Linked DNA regions of Homo sapiens: all the other regions are linked to region 2. Evidence: promoter capture Hi-C in 16 types of primary human blood cells and fetal thymus (Javierre and others, 2016). All regions are on one chromosome and are shown on one strand. The core of a region is centred on a gene start or on the middle of the fragment in contact, and the rest is flanking DNA. Distances in the headings are between cores, read along the strand shown. Region 1 holds the start of TMEM132A (transmembrane protein 132A). Region 2 holds the start of SYT7 (synaptotagmin 7). Region 3 has its middle 24 kb from the start of SCGB1D1.

Region 1 (4,016 bases), core at 52-2,551, 660 kb before region 2:
GTGGTCTGCAGAGAGCAGGGTGAGCTGCCAGCTGCCCCTCTCCACCAGGGTACCCTGTCTTGGTGGTTAGGGGCCACTTTTCCTTTGAGGCTCTAGTGGAGGTGGATGTCCTTCTCTGCCAGGCTTGGCACATGATGTGAAGAATAAATGCCCAATTCTTACTGTTCAGGTTTGATGTGGAATCACAGCTGCAGTGATATATATTTTTTATCAGTGCTTGGTTGGTTTTAAATAAAGTGCACGCTATTTTATTATCTTGTTCTGAATAAAATGTATTTACTCCAAGTCTGGATTGCTTCCATGTCTCCTCTACTGCTAAACCCATTTCTGTAGTGCAGCTCCGCCTCCCAATTTCTCCCTGTGGGGGCAGTGTGAAGCTGGCAGAGGGGAGAGCTGAAAAGGCAGGCTGGTACCAGGTACCCTTCCCTCCAGGAGCACAAGGAATTAGGAAAGCATGCCCCCATTACAAAACGTAGGAACGACTGGCACTGCTGGAAATGCGTGTGCTTGCTGGGCAGAGGGGTCACCCCTTCCCTGCAGTGTGCTGAGGTGGGTGGGCAGCCTGGAGAAGACTTGCCTGCCCTCCCCTTCACCACCCACCTGAGGACTTTCCTGTGCCAAGGTTTCCAGTCGGCCCACAGGCTGGACCAATTTTGCGGAGGGCCTCAGACATAATTTTTTCTTTGTAAGCTGCCCAGGGCATGAGAGTGTGCAGCTGGGGCCCCTGCTCTGGGCCTCTCCCCAAACTGCCTGGTAGGCAACACTGGGTCAGGACCCTTGAGGCTGGCCTTCCCTCGGGAGTGTTGGGCAACCCTCAACCCTCCTAAGCGCTGCAGGACGCTGCCCAGGTGGAGCTGGTCAAGAGACTAGAGCTGCCTGCACCTAGAGCCCTTCCTCCACGGCGGTGGCCTAGCTCTGTCAGGGCAGGCTCAGGTGGTTGGCATCTGGCCCCGTTTGACCCCCTCCCTCCTTTCCTGTCCCTGCAGCTCCCGTCCCATGTGTCCCTGAATTCTGGTTCTGACTCAGGTGTCAGATGCCTTCACAAGTGAGCTGCTTGTGGGGGTGGGTGAGGCAGAGAAAGTGGCTTTTTCTTCCCTGATCAGAAGCTTCCGTGAGGGAGCCACACAGAACTCACCGAGTCCCTCCTGGCAGAGGCGGCCGTCCTCTGTTGCTTCCAGGGACGTGGCCCTCTTCCCGACCTCGGTCGCCTGAGCGCGCAGGGATTGGGGATCCGTAGGGCACTAGGACCCGGCGGGGCGGAGGGGGCAGCCCATGTGCTGCGATTCGCTCCCTCCCACCCCACTGCTCCCGCTCCATTGTCTGGGAATTGCAGCCGCGGGGCGGGCGGCGGCGGCGGCGGCGGCGGCCGGGACCCAGCGGGCCAGGTGGGGACGGCGCGGAGCGGGTGCGGGAGATGCCGTGCGGGACTGGGGCCACCTGAGCCGCCCGCCTCGTCCCCGCCTTCTGTGGGAAGGATGTGCGCGCGGATGGCCGGTCGCACAACAGCGGCCCCTCGGGGGCCCTACGGCCCCTGGCTCTGCCTCCTGGTGGCCCTCGCCCTGGACGTCGTGAGAGGTCAGCGGGAGGGGAGGGCCGGGGCGAGGGGCGGCCGGGCCCGGCCGAGTGGGAGCGAGTGATGCCCGGGAGCCACCAACCTTTGGGTTCTCGGACTGAACCCTGAGCGGGGTCGCCCCGCAGCGCCCTGAAGGTCGGAGAGTTCTTGCCCTCGGGAACCTGCCCCCAGCCACTCGCCCCTAAGGCTTCCTTCACCTTGCACGACCCGGCAACTCCTTCCTGACCCGGGGCAGCCCGGCGCAGGGGCTTCCCCGTCCCGCACCTTCTGCGAGGGACCCCTCAGCCCGGGCATCGAACCCGGCGGCCCCGGTCCCGGGCGCACTAGCGTCATCCCCACTCCCTCACTGTGGTCTGTAGCGCTGCACCCTCCTAGCCTCCTTCCGCCGCCACCAACCCACCCCCCTCGGGAGTGGAAAGCAGCCCCTTTGCCTGGGACCTGCAACAGACGCAAGCCCTCCCTCCCCCTTCCCCCAGGGCTCCCTGACCTTGGCGTCTCCAGGGATGGCCGCATCCTTGCCTTCCAGAACCTTTGAGAGGATTCCTGTCACTGCGGGAAAGGGCAGCAACTTCCCTGTGCTTCGGGGTGGGGGTCGGACTCCCTTGGCCTGGGCTAGCTGGGCTGTGGCTGCAAGGCAAAGGATGCCACAGAAGACAGAGGGACAGTGAAACATTCTCTGCCCTCCCCACCGAGAGAGCCGAGCGCTGGGTGATGGGAGTCCGTGGGAGTCAGGCTAAGAGCATCTTGTAATTATGGAGGCAATGGAGTAGGAGGCGAACCTGAAGCCAGTGGCTGCCCCCAGAGAGCAGTGGTCACTTGTTACGCTTGGGGCAGGGGGCAGGGAGAGCCTGTCAGTCATATGCTCCTTGGTGGGGAGGGCCAGGAAGGAGGTTGAAACCAATTCCCCCACCCCCACCCACAGTCCAGCTGTGGGGCTGAGAGGGAGCTAGCTGTGGGGTTGCTTTCAGCCACCTGCTCCCCATCCCGAGGGACGCCATGGGAGTCCTAATAGAGAGAGGAGGAAAACCTTGTCAAATCCATTATGCAGCAGCAATAATGCCTGCTCCCTCCAGACAGCACTCCACAGTTTACACAGCCCTGTCCTGTCCACAGTGCCACCTAATGCTCCTGCCCCTTTTACAAGTGAGGAAACAGGCTTCAAAATGTTAATGCCTGACCCAAGTTTCATCAATTTAAATTCAGGTCTCCAGGCTCCCAGGAAATCCTCTCTAGGGAGCGCTTCCTAGTTTGGGGGAATTCCAGGATGAGCAAGACAGGGTCCCTTGTTTATAGGAAGATTACTAATTCAGAGGAGGCACCCAGGGTTGCAAAAGACAGGAGACTGGTGGGAAGGTGAGTAACCAAGGAGGGCTTCCTTCAGAAGGAGGCAGTATTCACTCATGGCCCTGAATGAGGAGGGAGGTGCCACCGGGCAGAGCAGAGGAGAGGAGGTGCGCTCCAGGGCATGAAGCCTGCAGGGTGCACCGTGGCAGTGGAGAGTGGAGAGAGAAGTGGCAGGTGGAGACGCCGGATGGTCTAGTGGCTAATACCTGGGATCAACCCCCAGCTCCTTCACTCTCCAGCTGTGGAACCACAGGCAAATACCTTAACCTCTCGGCCTCATTTTCTACATCCACAAAATGGGATTCATCATAATAGAACCTGGTTCACAGAATTATTACAAAGACTCAAAGAGTTCATATACATACAGTATTTAAATTCTCACCTGCATATAGCATTCACAAAATGCTAATTATTATTATTAGTGCTCATAGTTAGAGCAAACCAATATGGCTTAGTGCTCCTTTGTCCTTCTGATGATTGACTATTTTGACTGTCTTCCCCAGGCTCCTGGTCCCCACCCCACCCCCAGGGCAAGCAAGTGCCTTCACAGACCTCTTCAGCACCTTCCGCGCCCGCCCATCCCACACTTGCACTCGATACCAGTCGGTTCAGGGAAGAAGGGAGCAAGCTTGGAAAGATGGTGCAGGTTGCCATGGCAATGATGGGGGAGGAGGGGTGGATGCCCAGCAGAGCCTGGCCAAGGATTCAGGGCAGAGAAAGCTCACTTCATTACCATATTTTACTACACTGGCCCAGTCTGCCGACGGTTGCACCCCAGAAGTGCCTTGGTATCAGAGGCGAGTAGATGGAGGGCAGGAGTTGGGGAAAAGGAGACATTGAGAAGGCTGTTGGCGAGAAGAAGGCCAAGGTCTGTGGAAAGTAGAAGGAATAGCTGGGAAGCATCCAGTCCTGGACTCAGATTCGAATCCTGGCTTTGCTACATACTACCTGTGTGAGGCTCTTTAAGCCTCAGTGACCTCATCTGTGAAATGGTGGTGAGAGGGGAAGGGACATTTACAGCCCTTTTCTCCCTCCCTTGCCCACAACTACTGTGCCCCAGCATGGCACCCGGGTCAGCCCCTGCCAGCTCTGGAGCTGT
Region 2 (3,883 bases), core at 1,021-3,520:
CAGCCCCTTTCCCAGTCACAGCTGCCCTACCACAGGCACTGGTGGGTCCCGCAGCTGCAACTGGGGTGGGCAAGACAGGTCCCAACTGCAGCCAGAGAGGCCCATTCAAGGAGGGGGTGAGGGAAGAGTTGAGGGCTGCCAGCACACCAGGGATGGTACTGGACTCCAGACCCTTTGCCTAGAAGATGCCAAGCACGTCAAGCTGGCCTCCGTGGTGAGGGCAGAGGTGCTTGGAGGAGTGGTGATGTCATGGTGCCCAGGCATGGGAGGAAAGAGGAGGGAGGGAGAGGGGAGAGGGCACAGCCCCAGGCCAGTGGCCTAACAGGCCAGAGGGGAGGCTGCCAGCCTGGTGGGCGAGGGGATGGATAGTGTCCTTATTTCTTCCCTACCTTCCATCCTCATACCCCAGAGCTGGCTTCTGAACTAAGCTACTGGCTTCTAAGAAGGTGAGCAGAGCAAGAGAATACTCCTGCCACGGGCCATGGGCTGGAAGCCGGCGGCCTCTTCGACGAAGATGCCAGGGTAGGTGACCTAGGTCCAGACAGATGAGGGGAGGGCTCTCCACAGGCAATGCCCCTTCAGCCCTCACCTAGAGGACATTCAGAGAAGGGCGCAAGGTTCCAGAGAAGGAGACTGAATCTCTCACCCTCATATCCAAGTGCTGAGTGAGGGCAGTGCCTGGCGCCCAGTGGGTCGTCCTCAATATCGACTGGACTGAAAAGAATCGATGGGGGGTGGGAGCCGATTCCTCAGGAGGCAGGGACAGGCTGAGGCTGCCCCTAGAGGGGAAAGAGCAAATGTGGGGCTAGGGCAACAGTGGGCAAAGCCAGCACCCACTGGACTGCCTTCAGGAGCCTCAGGGCTGCAGGCTCCTTCTGTGCAGGGTCTTAGAGCCCTTCCTTCCCTACAGCACCGCCGCCCCCAGGAGGCTGGCAGGAGGGAGCCTGGAGGCTCTTCGTTTGGGAGCACATCCTGGGCTGGGGAGTCGTGCTTTTAGCATCAGAGAGAAGCCCAGAAACAGACCCTGATGCCAGAACTGGCAGACTGGGGGTGCTGGGACTGGGTGGAGCACCCCAGGTGGGAGCGGGGATGGAGCCTGGGCAGGAGCTGCAGGGGACCTGCCTACAGGTGGGCACTGGGTGAGGAGGCATCAGGAGCCAAGGAGGAAATGGCAGAGCAATTTCCGAGGAAGACGGGAAGATTCTTCGGCTTTGGCTTAGAGGATACCAAGCAGACAGTGGGCTCCCAGGCCACTCCCCTGGCGGGCGAAGCAGAAGGCAAAGGAGTTCGGCCCTCCCCCACCCCAGGACGGGAGAGAGTTTGGGGTTGTTTGCTTCCCCCTCCCCAAACCTAGGAGAACATTCTCTTGGCACCCCCATTCTCATGAGCCCCTGCTCTCTTTCCCTTCAGGCACCCCCGTCTCACCCATCAACGCCCCTGCAGTTCCCCACCCCCCAGAACCTCCCTGCCCAGCTGCCGCACCAGATTCCCACTTGCCCCCTGGCACCCTCTCAATTCACAGTTGGCACTGCGATGCCACTCCGCTCCCCTGTGCCCGCAACCTTGGCCAAGAGCTGCCGGGATCCTCGCCCTGGGGTCCGCCAGCGCTGGCACCCCCGGGGCACCGGTGCTGGGGAGCCTCGGGTGCCTCTGAGGGCACTGCCCGGCTCCCACAGGGGCAGCGGCTCCTCGCTCCGCCACACACGTTGTCCTTGGGCTGTTGAGGGGTGGGGGAGAGGTCCTTGTGGGGACACTGCGAAGCCGGTCCCAGACATCCAGCCTGGCAGTGTCCAGACTGCGGGGGACCGGGGTCCGAGCCGCTGCCGCTCGATCCCGCGCCCCCGGGGCTGGGATGACCCCTGGGGGAGCCCGTGCGGCTCCGGGCGGACAACAGCCCCAGGCTGGGGCTCCGAGACGGCGTCCGGCGCTGCCGCTGTCCTGCCCGCCGGTGCGGGGCGCCCCAGCCCGCCGGGGCCGCGCTTACCTGGGCTGGCCGCCTCCGGGTCCCGGTACATGGTCCCCTCGTCGCCGGTTCCCTCCGGGCTCCTCAGAGCCGCCCGCGGCCGCGCGCTGCTCCGCCGCCGCCGCTGGGCATGGGGCCGGGCGACCCCCGGGGGCGGGTCCGAGGGCGGGGGCCGAGCGGGCTGCACCTAGCCGCGGAGCCGGGGAGCGGGGGCCGCCCGCCAGCCCTCCCGCCCGCCCGCGGAGCACGCTGCCGCCGCCGCCGAACAGCGCCGAGCCGCCTCCCTCCGGCCTGCGCGCCGCGTGTGCGCGCCGGAGCGTGTGTGTGTGTACGAGGCCGTGTGTATGTGTGTGTGTGAGCGCGTGTGTGAGCGCGCCCGGGGCACCGCCGGCGCCGCCCGCCAGCCGCCGAACGCCGCGGCCACAGCCACCGCCTGCGCCCGCTGCCGGCCGCGCGCCGCACTGCACCCGCGCCCGCCGCCGCCCGAAGCCGCCCCGAGGGCACGGCCGCCGCCCCGCGCCCCGCCCGCCTCGCAGTCCCCGCGGGGAGGGCCGCCGAGCCCCACGGCCGGGCTCGTCCGGCCAGGGGATCCGGCTCCGCTGCGCGACCCACCCCCAGCCCGTGCTCCCCCGATGGCCGCGGCCTGGCACCGGGCAGGGCCGCAGAGCCGGCCACCTCCTCCGAGGTGCCCTTTGGCTCCGATCCAAAAGGCGTGGAGATCCACTCCGGGTTTTCCGCTTGCTGGCGGCTCGAGGGCGTCAGCTCCGGACTCAACACCGCGGCGGTCCGGGGCAGACGGACTGGTGTGTGCAAAAACCAGGAGTGGAATTTTTGGCAGCGCTGAGCCTGGGTCCGCCAGTCCGGTCTTTCTGCAAGCTCGCACACAGGTGGAGCCGAAAGGGCTAAGATCCCTGCCCTCGGTAGGAGGTTTGGCCTAGTGACCCTCCTCACCTAACCCAGCCCCACGAAAGAAGAAAATAGACTTTTCAGCCTCTGGCTATCCCTCTATAGCAGCAGCTCCTCCTCTGATCCTCCCCTCTATTCCTTGACCCTAGCACTTCGGAGGGTAGGAAGGAAATCCCTCCTTCTCCTTCCAACCCTGGACCTCTCTTGGTCCCCTCTGCCTCTCTGCCGGCTCAGCACAGTCTAAATCAGGTGAACACTCATTTCTCTACAGAATTTGGATGATTTGATTCTGGGGCAGGGAGGAGAAGAGACCTGTCTCCTAAGGATAAGAAAAACCCAGAAATGAACCATTAGTGGTATGGTAGGCACAGAGACCTCCCTGCACACACCTACACACGTAATCACCTACATACACACACACACACACACACACAGACATGATGCCCCCCACACACACACCCACACAGACATGCTGCCCACACAAAGAGACACATACACTGACGCTCCCCACAATACAGGTGCTGCCCCTACCCTTCACTGATGGGTCAGGTAAGAGGGCAAAATCCCTGGGTCTGTGGCAGCATCCTGCCCTCCCCTGTGCTGAGAATGCAGTTTGCAGGTGAGCCAGGCTTCCTAGAGTCAAGGATTATTATTTCCACCCTGAGAAATCCACTTTTGCTGGCTTTATACTGCACTACTCATGCCCAGCCACACCTCCACCTGCCCACAGTGTGGAAGGCAGCCAGGAACAACCCTCTATCTCAAGTCTCCCCGACACACACACAAACAGACCCCATCCCCTTGAAATCACATGGAGGCTATCCCCAACAACCACCACACACACACATACACACATACACATTCACCTCCACCTACAGCTTTTCCGGTTGAGAAAAAGATAAGGAAGTTCCCCCAGCAAACCTCCATGAAGACTGTTCCAGTGGAGAGCAGATTTCCTGGGAATGAATGTTCTACATAAAAATGGAAGGAAAAAAGGCATCGTAGGTTAAGGCC
Region 3 (3,834 bases), core at 339-2,838, 580 kb after region 2:
CCCTACCTGTATTAATTTGCACTTTAAATATGCCCATTCCTCTGCTATTATGATATAGGAAAGTTGATAGTATCAGATTAATTTCAGGTGAACTATTCTACCTATAAAAGAATAGGAGCTAATAGGAGCTCCTATAAAAGAACAGGAGCTAATAACCCATGAAAGCTATGACGGTTTTTTTTTTTTTTGGATCTCTATTCTTCCTGCCAGCTCTGCCCCTGGCCTGGCAGGATTGGTTGAGTGGGGAATTGGTCCTTGAGAATTGGAGTAAGGGATCTTGAGGAATGTGTTTAGTGTCTTTGAGTTGTGATTTGAGAATAACAGAGGCAGGAGCCCTCTGCAGGGCTCCTGTCCTACTTGCCCCTGGGACACTGTAATAAGACAAGTATGGATTATGCCCAGTGAGGACTCCTATAACTAATTATTTAACTCAGAAAGTGCCCCAGAGGTGCTGGGGGTGCAGCAGAAAGGACTGGAGGGGTGCAGCCACTACTGCGGGAATGGTAGGGAAAGGGGCTAGGGGCTAGGGGCTAGAGGCCTTCTGCCCCAGTTATCTTATGTGGTGTTTTTTGTTTTGTTTTGTTTTGTTTTGTTTTGTTAGTTTGTTTGTTTGTTTTTTGAGAAGGAGTCTCGCTCTGTCACCCAGGCTGGAGTGCAGTGGCATGATCTCGGCTCACTGCAACCTCTGCCTCCTGAGTTCAAGCTATTCTCCTGCCTCAGCCTCCCGAGTAGCTGGGCTTACAGGCATCCGCCACCATGCCTGGCTAATTTTTGTGTTTTCAGTAGAGATGGGGTTTCTCCATGTTTGTCGGCCAGGCTGGTCTCGAACTCCTGACCTCAGGTGATCTACCTACCCTCCGCCTCCCAAAGTGCTGGGATTACAGGCTTGAGTGACTGCACCTGGCCCAAGTTATCTTACAGTGTCATTGTTTGCATGTTTGTGATGGCCCTAGACTTAACAGATAGAGAGCAGGCTCTATGGCTTAGAGAAAGACAGAAAACAGACAGTGATTGATTTAGGGTATGTAGGTAATGTGTAAGCCCAGGGCAGTGATGGTGGCTTCATCTGGTCAGAATTTCATCAAAGACACCTCTCGGGGCTAAAAAAGACCAGACTTTTTTTTTCTTTTTTCTTTTTTTTTGCTACTTGGGCAACACTGGCTTGATCTAGGTGACCTCTACGTTCCCTAGATGGACAACTTGTGTGGCCCCCAAACCTCTCCGTCTTACCCCAGTACCCCTTATTATCCTCAGCTACCATGCCACTCTCTTCAATCCCAGCAACCAGTCCTCACCTACTTCTGTAGGAGACCTCCACAGGGAGGAGCCTTACCATGAAGGTGATTGCAGTGTTTTTAATGAAAGGGGCCAAGAAAATGTGGCAATGAGGTCCTGTTCCTACGAGCTCCACTCTCCGGATTGAGACAGTGACACTTGTGGGAGCAGGACCCACTGAGGCCCAGTCCGAGGGCTCAGGTGGGAGAGCATCCACTGTGGCACTGCCGCGCTCGGGACCAGGGGCTGCTGGCCTTCAACAGTTGTGTCTCACGTTCTACTGAAGCAGATTGAGGAGAGTGACTCGGGCAGAGAATGCAGGGTGTTCTCTGTCTCCCTCCAGTAGACTAAGGCGTGTTAGTCTACATGAGGTCAACATGCAGACTGCAATGCAGGGAATCCTCTCTCATTCCTCGGGTAGGAGGGCAGGGCTGGGAATTACAACAGGGACCTCCCCTAATTGTCCGCCACCTGCCTGGAGTCACTTAGCAAAAAATAAAAATAATAAAAATCTGTGTTTGGCCCTGATGTGGACTCTACAGCTCCTTTTGCCACTCCCTGTGTCAGGGCCAAGGAGATGGGGTTTGTTGTCCAGCTCTGTCTAACCACTTCCCGGGGAATAGTCTGGGAATATGGATGACAACCTTTAATCGCAAAGTGCCTACTGTGTGTGAGGCACTGGGCGAGTTGAGTTGCGTTGGCCATAACCTTCAATCGCATTTGCTGATTGAGGGGTGATATTATCTTCATCTTCATTTTAAGTCTCTGGAAAGTGACACTCAAAGAGTTAAAGCAACCTCAAGCCCAAGGTTGTGTGGAGTGTGCAGTCGGGCAGGAAGCTCCACTGGACTTCGAAGGTGTTGCTCTAAGGCAAGCCTGCTACGACGCATGTCAAGACATCAGAAATGTTAAGAGGCTTCCCTCCATTGCCTCTTGTTGGCCAAAAGCACCCAGACTTTTCTGATGCCAGTGGGGACTTCCCAGTCCTTGCCCTGGCAAAGTAGGGCCCTCTCCCAGACTGCTATTTCCCACCCGGGGTTTCTGGTCCCTGGCCGCAGGACGTGGGATCTGGTATCACTGATGGAGCTGTACAGATGACATGTCCCAGAAGTGCAGGGAATTGAAGTTCATGGGGTGAACTTTGGCCAATGGGAAACAGGAGGCAGGAGGGGTCTGGGCAGGTGAATTCTGCCAGCTTTGTCTCTGATGCTGGACCCCGGCATTGTTTCTCCTTGCCGCCTATGTGGAGAAATCCCACCTGCTGAGCAAACGACTGTGTCTCTTGATGCCTAGGTGTAAAATAACCATCACTTCACATTTTCTTCATATCTGTCCTGTCTCACTTCCCTTTTGTCAGGTTCCTGTGAGGCCAGGGGAGATCTGGTGGGACAGGGAGAACAGCAGGGGTACACAGGGTCCTGGGGTTTGGCAGAGAAAGGGAGTGGCCAAAGGAGCTGTAGAGTACGTGAGGGTCAAACACAGAGTTGTATTATTTTTACTTTTTGCTAAGCACCTCTAGGCAGCTGGGGGACTTTCGGGGCTCTGTAACTTTGGATATTGGGAACTTTACTGGTCAGGCCCTAATGACCAGATTCTCATACCTGAGCTGCACATTGATAAGGCACAGTGAAGTGGATATCCCGCCCTTTGGGCCTCCAGGCCAGTTCCTCTTGGGAACTGCCCAGGACTCTCGTTCTGCCCAGGACTGAGCCCTGACTCAGGATGTCACTGTTAGAGAGAAGGGCAGAGAGGGGCTCACTACCGTTGACTGTTGCTGTTTTCTGCTTAGCTGGCTGGATATCCACCTCCTCTTTGAACTTCTTCAGACCCTCAAAATCAGCACCCTTGAAATCAGGGTCCTTGAAATCAGGAGTCTCAACACTGGGAGAGGACCCAAAAGGACCAGTAGCAGCTGGGAAGTCAGCTCTGGAGCCCTCAAAGAAGCTTTGCTTGACTCAACTACCTTTTTGCACATGGAGGTGGGAAGAAAAGAGTTAGGCACATTTATCATGATGGGGGAATGGCCATTGTGCCTTGTCCAGGGAACAATGCACACAGAGCATGAGCCCACCTGTGCAGCAAGATGCTGATATCCAGGTATCTGTGTCTGGATGGATGGGAAAAGACTTGACCCCATGAGCCCAGCAAGTTAACACTGGTTGTATATGGGTGACTTCTATGGGCTTTTCTTTATTTCCCCAAATTTATTTTATTTATTTATTTAGAGACAGGGTTTCACTTCAGTTGCCCAGGCGGGAATGCAGGGGCATGATCACGGCTCGTTGTGGCCTCAACCTCCCAGGCTCAAGCAATCTTCCTGCCTCATTTTTTTGATTTTTTGTAGAGATGAGGTCTCACTATGTCACTGAGGCTGGTCTCCAACCCCTGGGCTCAAGTGATCCCCCTGCCTCAGCTTCCCAAAGTGCTGGGATTACAGGCATGAGCCATTGCACCCAACCCTGTATTTCCCAAAATTTCTAAAGAATGGCGGGCACAGTTTGAGACCAGCCTGAGTGACATAACAAGACCCTGTCTGTATTTATTAAAACAAACAAAATA

The links. The method cuts DNA at HindIII sites, captures the fragments that hold promoters and counts their contacts. A CHiCAGO score of 5 or more calls a contact.
Region 1: a contact is called between the fragment with the promoter of TMEM132A here and the fragment with the promoter of SYT7 in region 2, in 2 of 17 cell types (erythroblasts and activated CD4 T cells). The highest score is 6.3, in erythroblasts.
Region 3: a contact is called between a fragment that was not itself captured here and the fragment with the promoter of SYT7 in region 2, in 1 of 17 cell types (erythroblasts). The highest score is 5.6, in erythroblasts.

Annotation. Positions count from the first base shown.
Region 1 is chr11:60,923,159-60,927,174 of GRCh38, forward strand. TMEM132A (transmembrane protein 132A) reads left to right here and starts at 1,302. Exons shown (of 11, transcript NM_178031.3): 1 at 1,302-1,575. The coding sequence starts at 1,476. TMEM109 (transmembrane protein 109) reads left to right here. Exons shown (of 4, transcript NM_024092.3): 4 at 1-285. It overlaps LOC124902676 (a long non-coding RNA gene), which reads right to left and starts at 2,239. Exons shown (of 2, transcript XR_007062688.1): 1 at 2,061-2,239. RefSeq lists silencers at 1,198-1,557, 1,618-1,837, 1,878-1,947. The HindIII fragment of the contact is 2,439 bases long and covers 1,105-3,543 here.
Region 2 is chr11:61,578,806-61,582,688 of GRCh38, forward strand. SYT7 (synaptotagmin 7) reads right to left here and starts at 2,271. Exons shown (of 13, transcript NM_001365809.2): 1 at 1,985-2,271. The coding sequence starts at 2,015. LOC105369331 (a long non-coding RNA gene) reads right to left here. Exons shown (of 5, transcript XR_950166.3): 4 at 3,791-3,840; 5 at 2,601-3,188. RefSeq lists silencers at 2,292-2,381, 2,402-2,551, 2,562-2,721. The HindIII fragment of the contact is 6,758 bases long and covers 1-3,883 here.
Region 3 is chr11:62,164,413-62,168,246 of GRCh38, forward strand. No RefSeq gene overlaps it. Among named protein-coding and RNA genes, the nearest start is that of SCGB1D1, 24 kb to the right of the region's middle. The HindIII fragment of the contact is 3,257 bases long and covers 1-3,217 here.